2 separate regions of the Homo sapiens genome follow, and region 2 is linked to region 1. Evidence: promoter capture Hi-C in human tissues and cell types (Jung and others, 2019). All regions are on one chromosome and are shown on one strand. Each heading gives the region's core, a stretch centred on a gene start or on the middle of the fragment in contact. The rest is flanking DNA. Distances are from core to core; before and after follow the strand shown.

Region 1 (6,042 bases), core at 1,786-4,285:
CCAGAAAGCAACTATTTAAAGATACATAATAGGCCAGCATGGTGGCTCACAGCTGTAGTCCCAGCACTTTGGGAGGCTGAGGCCAACAGATCACTTGAGGTCAGGAGTTCGAGACCAGCCTGGCCAACATGGTGAAGCCCCGTCTCTACTAAAAATACAAAAAATTAGCTGGGCATGGTGGCGGGTGCCTGTAATCCCAGCTACTCAGGAGGCTGAGCAGGAGAATCACTTGAATCCAGGAGGTGGAGGTTTCAGTGAGCCAAGATTGCACCACTGTGCTCCAGCCTGGGCAACAGACTGAGACCCCATCTCAAAAAAAAGAAAAAAAAGATACCTAATATATGTTCTGGGACCACACGGAGGCCCTCTCCAGAGCTGAAAGGAGAAAATATCGAACCATAAATGCAGTGAGAGAAGAGTAAGGAGGAGAAGGCTGATAGCCCTGGGGGTCGGAGGCGGGGAGTAGGAGTGGCTGGCCGGCCGATGGAAGGGAAAGTCCTGGATGGAGTATTTACACATTCAGTTTGTTCCTGCAGTAATATTTGTGGATACAGGTATTGTGCTTGGTGGCATGGTCCTTGCCCTCCTGGAGTTTATAGCCATGCTGTGGGACTAGGGCTAGCATCCATTAAGAGGTCTCCCGGAAGTAGACCAAGTATTCAGGCAGGTGAAGTGGGGAGAAATCGGAAAAGAGCCATTGAGGCCAAGGGAACAGCGCAATCAGAAGACCTGAAGCACAAAAGAGCTCCCTGTGATCAAGGAACAGGCACAAGGCCCATATGTGGCTAGAGCCCAGTTGGCAAAAGTGGTTCAAGATCAGGCTGTAGCCAGATCCTGTAAGGCCTTGTTGCCACACTAAGGACTTTGAACTTCCTCGTGAAAATGAAGAGAAGTCGTTGAATAGCGCAGGTCTGACAAGATTTTAAGAAGTTTCCTTTAGTTGCTGTGTGGGCAGTGAATGGGGGCGTAAGGAGAGCCTAAAGGAGAGACTGCTTGAAGGGTTATTGCAGGAGTCAAGGTGATAGCTGGTGGCAGGTTAAACTGGGAAAGAGGGGTAGAGATGGTAGGAGGTGGAGAGATTAAGGACACCATTTAGAATTGGAAACAACATGGACTGGAAATGAAGAATAAAGGAAAGAGTGGTGTCAACGGTACAATTTAAGTGTCTGGTGTAAGCAACTGGGTAGAGAGTGGTGCCAGTTACTGAAGGTGGGGACACTGTAGGAGAAACCCACTTGGGGACCAATTTTTTTTTTTTTTTTTTTTTCAGACAGAGTTTCGCTCTTGTTGCCCAGGCTGGAGTGCAATGGCGCAATCTCGGCTCACTGCACCCTCGCCTCCCGGGTTCAAGCGATTTTCCTGCCTCAGTCTCCTGAGTAGCTGGGATTACAGGCATGCGCCACCACGCCCGGCTAATTTTTGTATTTTTAGTAGAGACGGGGTTTCTTCATGTTGGTCAGGCTGGTCTCCAACTCCCGACCTCAGGTGATCTGTCTGCCTTGGCCTCCCAAAGTGCTGAGATTACAGGCATGAGCCACTGCGCCCGGCCGGGGACCTATTAAGTATGAAAAAGTGTGAGCAGGCCGGGTGCGGTGTCTCAGGCCTGTAATCCTAGCATTTTGGGAGGCCGAGGCGGGCAGACCACTTGGGGTCAGAAGTTGGAGACCAGCCTGGCCAACATAGAGAAAACCCGTCTCTACTAAAAATACAAAAATTAGCCGGGGCGCATGCCGGTAATCCCATCTACTCAGGAGGCTGAGGCAGGAGAATCGCTTGAACCCGGGAAGCGGAGGTTGCGGTGAGCCAAGATCGCGCCACTGCACCTGAGCCTGGGCGACAGAGCGAGACTCCCTCTCAAAAACAAAAAAACCCCCCAAATGAGTAAAGAGTAATGTGGATATTATATTATAAACGAACAAACAAAAAAGGACTTCGTATTCTTTTTGCATAGGGAAGGGGAAGAAATGTGGAGTGGAAGAGGATGGTACAGAAAAGGTGTAAAAAGAAAGGCTGTGGGAGGAGTAGGGTAGGAGGGCTTCTGAACTGGGGTTAGTGTCACACTGTGTAACTGATAATTTAAACTGCTGAAAATGAGACCACACTTAAAGATACAGGTCCCTTTAAAAGGAAGGCGGATGTTAAAAGCAATTTGCATTTTACCTAAAATGGGCTGCTTCTCCCTGTACCCTCTCCAAATACAGCCAGACTTTCTGTAGAAACATTTTAATCATGGGCACCCTTCCCCCGAAAAATCCACTCACTACCAGTACACACGACCTTCTGAGTTTAATGGACCTACGGAGGCCCATCCCTGGGCTCTCTGGGCTAGGTTAATCCCAGGTTAGGCCCCAAGCTCAGAGGTAGCAACGTTCCCAGCTCAACGACGCAGGAAGACCACGCCTCTAAATGTTCTGCAACCTCGTCCATTTCAGAATTTTCCGGGGTTCTGGGTAAACTGGCCTCACCAAGGATTCTGCCCCGTCTTGTTGCTCCCGTTTTTAAACACAGACCGGTGTGTGGGAGAGGCCATTATTTTTCCGGAACACTGTGCTCCTGGAGCAGATAGGGACACGCAGAGTGGCTTTACCGCAGCGCCAGCTTCAGCCTTACCCGGCTCCTCCTCCAGGCCACCGCCTCCTCCTCGCGCCCAACCCGCCTTCCCTGCTCACCCCCGGCCCGCTCCTCCCCTTTGCTCTCAGCGCGGACTCGGCCACTCACTACCGGCGCCGTGTTCCACCCGCCCACCGCATGGCCCCGTCCCTATGTCGCTGGTCTCGCCCCCTTCCAGGAGGGCCCAATGAGCGTTCACATGCGCCACAAGGCCCCGCCCCGCACCGCGCAGCCCCGCCCACAGGCTGAGTTAACCAATTCGCGGCCCCGGGCCCCGCCCCGCCCGCAGGCCCCGCCCCGGCGCCCGGCCCCACGCGCCCGCCTCCCTCCGGGGCGTTGCCGCCGCCGCGCCTCAGCAGCCCGCGCGGAGCCAGATGCCGCCCCCTCCGCCGGTCCCTCCCCCGGCGGCCTGGCGCCTCCCTCCCTCCCCACCGCGGTGACTCTCGGAGCGGGAGGCGGAGGCTGAGGCGGCCGCTCCTGCTGCTGCTACTGCCGCCGCCGCAGCGGCTGCTCGGGCTGAGCACGCCCCGGAACAGGCCGCCGCGCGCTGCGCGCCGGACCCGCTGCCCCTGCCGGCCCGGCCGGGTCGGGCGGCCCAGGTAAGCGCCGAGGCCGGGCCGCGCCTGCACCGCCCGGGCCCGCGCCGCGCCGCGCCGGGGCTTGGGGGAGCGGCCAGCCCTTTGTCTGCCGGGGAGGGGCCGCGGAGAGCGCCCCCGACCCCGCTCGGACCCCTGACTGCCCCAGCGGCGCGGCGCCCTGGTCTGGGCCTGGCCGCCTCTCGCCGCAGACCACCTCCCGCCTCCCTGACTCTTCGCCCGGGGGTCGCCTCCACAGGTGTCCGCGCCGCCCACCTTGTTGCTCACCTCACCGCGTCCGGGTGCCTGTCATCGCCCGTCCGCCCTCCCGACCTCTGGGCCCCTGCCTCTTCCCTCACCTGCGCCCACTCTGAGACTCTTACTCTCCATATTTCCCCAAACTAAACGCTGGGCCGCCCTTCCTCCCTCTGTAGTTTGATTGAACTGTCGTCTCCCGATTCCACCCCTCCCCGGTGAGCCTTCCTGGAAGGTACCTGGTGGGGGCACATATCTCACCTGGATGGCGGGCGTGTATGCACGAACCTGCAAAATTAACCACCTGGAGCCCCAAACTGCACCTCTCACCTCCTTTTCATCACCCCACCCCAACCACCTTCCTTTTTTTGGAACCTGGTAACCGAGACACTCAGGTCTGGACACCCAGCCTCTGCTAGGCCCTCCATCCCTCCCTCTGCCTTGTGAGCTGAACTTGTCTGAGCAGTGCCTGTTGTCAGGTTAGCCCCTGGGAAGGCGGCGGGGGCCGTGTTGGCCGCAAATCAAGAGTTTTATGAATAATGAGACGTGTGGCTTGCACCACCTCCTGTCTGAGGATCTCAGTATGCTCCAGCTGTGAATTATTTTGTCTCCTGTCACTCACAGAACTGAGAGGAACATGTCTGGCCAACTGCTGGGTAAATTGAGGTACAGGGTGTGTGGGTAAGGGACCTGGAGGCAAGTCATGGTTTGTCTTGAAGTTCTGTTCGCAGGAGCCTTGGCTCTTAGCTCCCTGCTACAACCACTGGGCTCCAGTTCCTGGAGTGTGTCCCCAAGTGATAACTGATCTCTTGTGCCATTAAAATGTCCAGAGATACCAGCAGCTTCCTCAGATTTAAAGTAGGACTTTGGATCATAAATAAAGGTGCGGGCTGTTAAATGCCAATGTGTCATTCACGGTTTGCTGGGGGAGTTCGTGGTCCTCCCTTGTAAATACAAATCACCTCTATGGGATGGAGATTCATTCATTCAGTAGTGAGCATTTACTATGTGCCAGGCACCGTTCCAAGTACTGGGGCTTTAGTGGTGAAGACAGACACGGTTTCTGCCCTCCTCAGAGATGACATTTTAAAGAGGAGGAAAGTCAGACAATAAGTGAGTAAACAAACAAGTGGACAAAATAATTTCAGTAGTGGTAAGTGCTATGAAGATGGAGAGGGGCCAGATTACATATAAGAATCTGTGGCCGGGCGCGGTGGCTCACGCTTGTAGTCCCAGCACTTTGGGAGGCCGAGGCGGGCGGATCACGAGGTTAGGAGATCGAGACCACGGTGAAACCCCATATCTACTACAAATACAAAAAATTAGCTGGGCGTGGTGGTGGGCACCTGTAGTCCCAGCTACTCGGAGAGGCTGAGGCAGGAGAATGGCGTGAACCCGGGAGGTGGAACTTGCAGTGAGCCGAGGTCACGCCACTGCACTCCAGTCTGGGCGACAGAGCGAGACTCCGTCTCAAAAAAAAAAAAAAAAAAAAAGAATCTGTGGATCAGGGCGGACTCAGTGGTTCATGCCTGTAATCCCAGCACTTTGGGAGGCCAAGGCGGGCAGATCACGAGGTCAGGAGTTCGAGACCATCCTGACCAACATGGTGAAACCCTGTCTCTACTAAAAATACAAAAATTAGCTGAGCGTGGTGGTGCATGCCTGTAGTCCCAGCTACTTGGGAGGCTGAGGCAGGAGAATTTCCTGAACCTGGGAGGCGGAGGTTGCGGTGAGCCGAGATTGCGCCACTGCACTCCAGCCTGGGCAACAGAGCAAAACTCCGTCTTGGGCGGGGGTGGAGAAAAAGAACCTGTAGATCAAAACAAAGATTTTGTAGGTCGTAATAAAGAGTTTGGATTTTATTCCAAGAACAGTTAGAGGCCATTGGAGGGTTTTAAGCAGAGAAAGAATAAAGTCTGATTTGTTCCAAAAGATTGTTCTGGCCACTGTGTAGAGACTGGATTCTAAGGAGCAAAGGTGGAGGCAGGAATACCAGTTATGAGACAGACTATTGCAGCTGCCTGGCAAGAGATGATGGTGGCTTGAGGGATCGGGGCAGTGGCAGTGGAAACGAAGAGGTGGAATCAGTCTGTTCCCTCTGGGAGAGCTGCAAAGCAAAACTTTGGAGACTGAGAGTTAGATGTCCCATAACAACGTGCTCACAGAACAGGTCCCCGCCTCCTTGATTGGAGAGGGTTTGTGGGTTTAAAAACCAGTTAGAGGTGGAGGAGGGCATAATACACTGGGTTTCATTCCCACATCCGGTTGTATTGTTTAAATGGGAACATTACTGCCACTGTTGGAAGATGTTGCACCAGGAAATTGGGCCTGTTCTCATGGTAGGTAGGAGAATGTTTCAGTGGCCACAAACTTGAGCTATTAATGAGAATGAGGCCAGGTGCAGTGGCTCACCCCTGTATATGCCAACATTTTAGGAGGCCAAGGCGGGCGGATCACCTGAGGTCAGGAGCTCAAGACCAGCCTGGGCAACATGGTGAAAACCCGTCTCTACTAAAAATACAAAAATCAGCTGGGCATGATGGCGAGTGCCTGTAATCCCAGCTACTCGAGAGGCTGAGGCAGGAGAATCGCTTGAACCAGG
Region 2 (6,042 bases), core at 1,346-3,845, 260 kb before region 1:
ATGAAACACCTGGAAAATAGTAATAATCTATGCTGTAATCTCACAAGGTGACTCAGTACCCACTACGGTTGGGCATACATGGTTTTAAGCAAACCTGAAACAGGAAGATGTGGCTTAGAGAGCATTAAACACTGGCCATAAAAGGGAGTCACGAAAGCATTCCTTTAAGTCACAAGGTTTTCATGAAATGTAATAACTGGATTTATACAAATTCAACATATACTTAGCTTTTCAAGAATTTGCTTTTGCACAGAGTACTCCTGTATTTCACTGTTGAGAAGCTGTGAAATAAAAGAGTCATAACAGGACAGAGTTGGTCATTCTGTTTGAAGTAGGAGAGATCTGAGCTAGTCAGTAAAGAAGGTGAAAATGCAAACCTTAAAGGTTTGCAAAATGAAATGCCTTTACACTTTGTCTGCAAAGGCCAGATAGTAAATAGTGTAGCAAAGGAAATGAAAACATCACAGCAGGCACAGGCACAGGCTGGGGCCAAAAGAACAGGGCTACAGTGTACAGATGGCTCAGGTCTATGAGCAGGCCTTAAAATAAATTTATTTATTTATTTTTGAGAAGAGTCTTGCTCTGTTACCCAGGTTGGAGTGGCGTGATCTCGGCTCACTGCGACCTCTGCCTTTTGGGTTCAAGTGATTCTCCTGCCACAGCTTCCCAAGTAGCTGGGATTACAGGCATGCACTACCACGCCTGGCTAATTTTTGTATTTTTAGTAGAGACGGGGTTTCGCCATGTTGGCCAGGCTGGTCTGGAACTCCTGACCTCAGGTGATCCACCCTTCTTGGCCTCTCAAAGTGCTGGGATTACAGGCATGAGCCACCGTGCTTGGCCTTATGCCAGGTACTTCTATGTGTGTTTTCGCTTAGTCTTCCCAACAAGTGTACAAAATAGGTGGGTGTTGACCTTGTTACAAAGGAATTAATCAACTATTTACTATCTGGCCTTCACAGAATTCTGCAAACCTTGAAGGGAGGCCAGTGTCTGGCCAGTGAGCTGTTTTGTTTCATGCTCCATGGCCTTGCACTTTGCAAACTTTTAAGGGAGGCCAGTGTCTGAGCTGTTTTGTTTCGTGTTCCATGGCTCTTGCACTGAAATCTGTTTATGAAGAGACATGAGGTGGAAAGTTAAAAGAGTGGAAAAGAGTTGTCCCCAGGCCAGGGAGTGGCAATAGTGCCTCTGCTGATGACAGGAGTCACATAACAGAGAGTCACATAACGAAGGTAAGAGCAAATACAGAAAATCAGGGGAAATATGCAGTAACGTCATATTCCATTGTAAAGTAAACATGTCTCCACATAGGCAAATGGCTACCGAATCTTAGGTCCCCGTCTTGCCTTCCTCACTACCCTTGTCCTGGCCACACCATAAAACTTTTCAACTTTGTGGTGGGGGTGGCTGAAGCAGGGCAGAAATCTTCAGTGATGCTGCTCAGTTTCAATTTTAGAAATAGGAACCAGGTCTTACTAGTTGAGAACAAACATTCTGACTATTTGCAATCCACCATAAACCCTAGTGATGGCCGGCTCCCATTAACCTTTGGCTTCCTGAGTGTAACAAAGGTACAGCTAAGAGAGCCAAAGATTTTACACGGTCTCAATTATTCTACTTAATATCCTTCCATTGTCAACAGCTGTTACCTTATGCTTTTTCTTCTTCTTTTTTTTTTTTTTTTGAGATGGAGTCTCACTCTGTCGCCCAGGCTGGAGTGCAGTGGCACCATCTCGGCTCACTGCCAGCTCTGCCTCCCGGGTTCACGCCATTCTCCTGCCTCAGCCTCCTGAGTAGCTGGGACTACAGGTGCCCACCACCACGCCCAGCTAATTTTTTGTACTTTTAGTAGAGATGGGGTTTCACTGTGTTAGCCAGGATGGTCTCCATCTCCTGACCTCGTGATCTGCCCGCCTTGGGCTCCCAAAGTGCTGGGATTACAGGCGTGAGCCACCGCACCCGGCACCTTATGCTTTTTCTATAAGTAAAATATAGGAATCAATAATGGTAAAAATATGTCATGACATCAACATGAATAATCCAATGTACTGTCTAAGCACAAAGTGCAGTAAGGCATTTGGAAGTGGCTGTAGACTATGTGGTGACATCAGACATCTGCTCTTCAGTCCATCAACAGAGTCTGGTATCAATTAGCATAACTGGGAACAAAATCAGTCACAGAATTTCACTTATTGATGACTGTGATCCTAAAATTTCCAGAACTTCAACAACTGCTAAAGTTATAAGTGAGAGAGTCTGAATGTGGAGTCCAAACCACCAAACAGAGCCCCGGGTTTCTACTCACCGGTCTGAGGAAGGGCTTCTGGACCTGCTTCGTGAGGATGTGGAACATGTCCACGGTTTCGGTGGCCAGGGCGAGGTAAGAGCGGGACACACGCTCATCCTGAGCAAGCTGAGACTGACGAGCCTGCTGCTGATCCTAGGACACATCGAACAGACGCTGAGTAAGGCTCGGTCCTGGTCATCAGCTCAGCAAAGCGCCAAGCACATAACTGGAAAGTGCGTGATAAACCCAACATGCTTAGGGAATGACAGAACCGCCTGCCACATGTCCCAGATAACTGAAGTTTCATCCTTTCAGCATCGGAGCTCTTTGAGACTTCCAGCCAGGTGATGTTGGTGCCTTATTTAACTCTGCTTCCTCAATGATAAAAGAAGTCACCATCTGCCGGGCGTGGTGGCTCACGCGTGTAATCCCAGCACTTTGCGAAGCCAAGGTGGGCGAATCACGAGGTCGAGATCGAGACCACCCTGGCCAACATGGTGAAACCCCGTCGCTACTAAAAATACAAAAATTAGCTGGGGGTGGTGGTGCGTGGCTGTAGTCCCAGCTACTTGGGAGGCTGAGGCAGGAGAACTGCTTGAACCCAGAAGGCTGAGGCTGCAGTGAGCTGAGATCGCGCCACTGTACTCCAGCCTAGTGACAGAGTGAGACTCCGTCTCAAAAAAAAAAAAAAAAAAAAAAGTCACCATCAACTTCTATTCAGGATGAAATAAGATAATGGAACATAGTATCTGACACACATCATGGCACTAAGAAAGGGTAGTTTATTTCCCTTAATAATAACTTTTACTTAGTCATTATTATTATTATTATTATTATTATTATTATTTTTTGAGACGGAGTTTCGCTTGTTGCCCAGGCTGGAGTGCAATGGCGCGATCTCGGCTCACCGGAACCTCCGCCTCCCAGGTTCAAGTGATTCTTCTGCCTCAGCATCCCGAGTAGCTGGGACTACAGGCATGTGTCACCATGCCCGGCTAATTCTGTATTTTTAGTAGAGACGGGGTTTCTCCATGTTGGTCAGGCTGGTCTCGAACTCCTGACGTCAGGTGATCAGCCTGCCTTGGCCTCCCGAAGTGTTGGGATTACAGGCGTAAGCCACCGTGCCCGGCCCTCTATTATTATTGTTATTTTTTTTTGAGATGGAGTCTTCCTCTGTCACCCAGGCTAGAGTGCAGTGGCACAATCTCGGCTCACTGTAACCTCCGCCTCCCAGGTTCAAGTGATTCTCATGTCTCAGCCTCCCAAGTAGCTGGGATTACAGGAGTGGACCACCATGCCCAGCTAATTTTTTTTTTTTGTGTGTGTGTGTGTGTGTGTGTGTGTGTGATTTATTTATTTTTTTTGAGACAGGGTCTCACTCTGTTGCCCAGGCTGGAGTGCAGTGGCGCGATCTTGGCTCACTGCAATCTCTGCCTCCCGGGTTCGAGCCATTCTCCTGCCTCAGCCTCCTGAGTAGCTGGGATTACACGTGCGTGCCACCATGCTTGACTAATTTTTGTATTTTTGGTAAAGATTGGGGTTTCGCCATGTTGGCCAGGCTGGTCTTGAACTCCTGACCTCAGGTGATCCATCCACTTCAACCTCCCAAAGAGCTGGGATTACAGGCGTGAGCCAATGCGCCTGGCCTAATTTTTGTATTTTTAGTAGAGATGGGGTTTCACTATGTTGATCAGGCTGGTCTCAAACTCCTGACCTCAACTGATCTGCCCACCTAGGCCTCCCAAAGTGCTGGGATTACAAGTGTAAGCCACCGTGCTCAGCCAGTCTTCATTATTTTAAAACTATGAGATGCAGTGTGCCACCGTATTGAGGCCTATCGGGTCTGCCTCTCTGCCTCTACAAGTGCCTGTGGACTACTAAGCTTTTAAAATTTTGTCTTTCCAAACTGTGAGGCTGTCACACCACAGAACTGTCAGCACGCTTACCTCTGGCGCACTTTCCTCCTTCAACTCTGCCATGGGCTGGGGAGGAGATAATAAGAGCTGTTTGACTCATGGATACAATCAGGTACTGCACTGCAGGCTCTGAAATGGGTCAAACACAGACCCATCAGGAAAAGCCTCAATTCTTACATCTGTTCAGAGGCCTTTTCTTGTTGGGAAAGGAACACAGCTGGCAGAGCTGAAGCTGGCCGGTGAGTGCCCTCTGGGAAAGTGCTCCAGTCTGTGCTTGATGGAGATTCTGCAGGGATACTGGGGGGCCTGCCGTTCCCTGGTCAAGAATGAGCCTACTGAAAGAAAGGCAGAGCCAGGAAAGACACAAGAACAGCCAGGCGTGAACTACCTAAATGTGTACCTGGGTGTCTCAACAGGCCCTTCTACAGCCTTTGGGCACTGGAGATAGAATAAAAAGGCTCCCAGCTCTCATGCAGCTTAGATTCCGTTAGGGAGGATCTGCTTCATAGAAACAAATACCCAGACAGACACACAGTAAGTCTGACAGTGATGAGGAAAAATGAAGCAGGGTCAGGAGTCAGGGAATGCTATTCTGGAAAGGGTGGTCAGGGAAGGTATCCCTGAGGGAGGGTATATCTGAAGGAGTCGGAAAATCTGAGGGAAGAGCATTCCAGGTAGGGGGAAGAGCAGGTGTAAAGGCCCTCACGTGTCAGTGGAAGGGCCAGGAGGTGAGTCTGGCTGGGGTAGAGTGAGTGGAGAAGAGACTGTCCAAAGCTGAGAGCAGAAACACATTGTGGGGCCAGGTCCTCCTGCGTGCTGTAGGCTGCTCTCACCACAGGATTTGGCTCTGAGTGATAAGGGAAGCCCAAAATGGCTGAGCTGAGTGGTGATGTTGATCAGACTGAGATGTTTAACACCATCCCTGATATGGACATGCTCAAGAGTGGAGGTTGAAGACCAAGCAGTGGGCTACTGCAATAACCCAGGTAAGAGATGCCAACGGTCTGGAGGTGCTGAGAAGAGGTCAGATAATGGATATATTTTAAGACAGAGCTTAGAGGCATTTGCTGAGAGACGCAGAGAAATCAAGAGCAACTCCAAAGCATCGAGCCTGAGCAGCTGGTAGAATGAAGGCGCCATTTACTGAGATTGGGCAGACTCAGGCAGGAGATGTGGACAACATCAAGGGTTCCGTTTTGGACACAGTGAGTTTGAGACACTGATTAGACAAATACTTGGTCTGCAAGTCTGCAGTCAGATCTGAGCCAGGGAGATATATTCTGGAGTCTTTAGAACACAGGTATTTAATGCCTTGGTATACCTGAGCTCACCAAGCAGTGATGTTCACCGGGGGACATCAGGTTATGTGTGGCAGTGTTTCTCGTTGCCTGAAGGCTGGGGGTAGGAGGGTACATCCCTGACATTAAATGGCAGGAAACAGAGATCCTAAATGTCCTGCAATATATGGGATGGTTTCTCATCATGAGTTATTATTATACCAAATTCCACTAGGCTCAAAATTCCAACTAGTGCCCTCGTTGAGAAACACTAACCTAGAGAGCATGAGTGGGAAAGAAATTGAAGCCTAAGGGCTGAGTGCTGGAGCTCACCAAGCTCAGACGTCAGGGAGATGAGCAGGAACAGCCAGGGCAGTGGGAGGTAGAAAGTGACTTCAAAGCCAAATAAAAATTATTTCTGAAATAGCAATTGTGGGAATTATTTGGGCCTTTTTCATCCATTAACACAGGAAAAATCAATATTATTTGTTCAGTTGGCTCATAAACAAATGCTATTAAGTACTGACTATGAATACGAGAATGTGCTATAGACCTGCATTCC

What was found. Contacts are between HindIII fragments. The study calls those that stand out against the background at their distance.
Region 2: a contact is called between a fragment that was not itself captured here and the fragment with the promoter of CTNNBIP1 in region 1, in 1 of the 25 tissues and cell types used here (aorta).

Annotation. Positions count from the first base shown.
Region 1 is chr1:9,907,262-9,913,303 of GRCh38, reverse strand. It overlaps CTNNBIP1 (catenin beta interacting protein 1), which reads left to right and starts at 3,035. Exons shown (of 6, transcript NM_020248.3): 1 at 3,035-3,209. RefSeq lists enhancers at 1,094-1,766, 1,767-2,440 and silencers at 2,588-3,187, 3,198-3,257, 3,428-3,487. The HindIII fragment of the contact is 11,728 bases long and covers 1-6,042 here.
Region 2 is chr1:10,164,534-10,170,575 of GRCh38, reverse strand. It overlaps UBE4B (ubiquitination factor E4B), which reads right to left. Exons shown (of 28, transcript NM_001105562.3): 24 at 2,306-2,440. Among named protein-coding and RNA genes, the nearest start is that of KIF1B, 43 kb to the left of the region's middle. RefSeq lists an enhancer at 1-32. The HindIII fragment of the contact is 8,579 bases long and covers 1-6,042 here.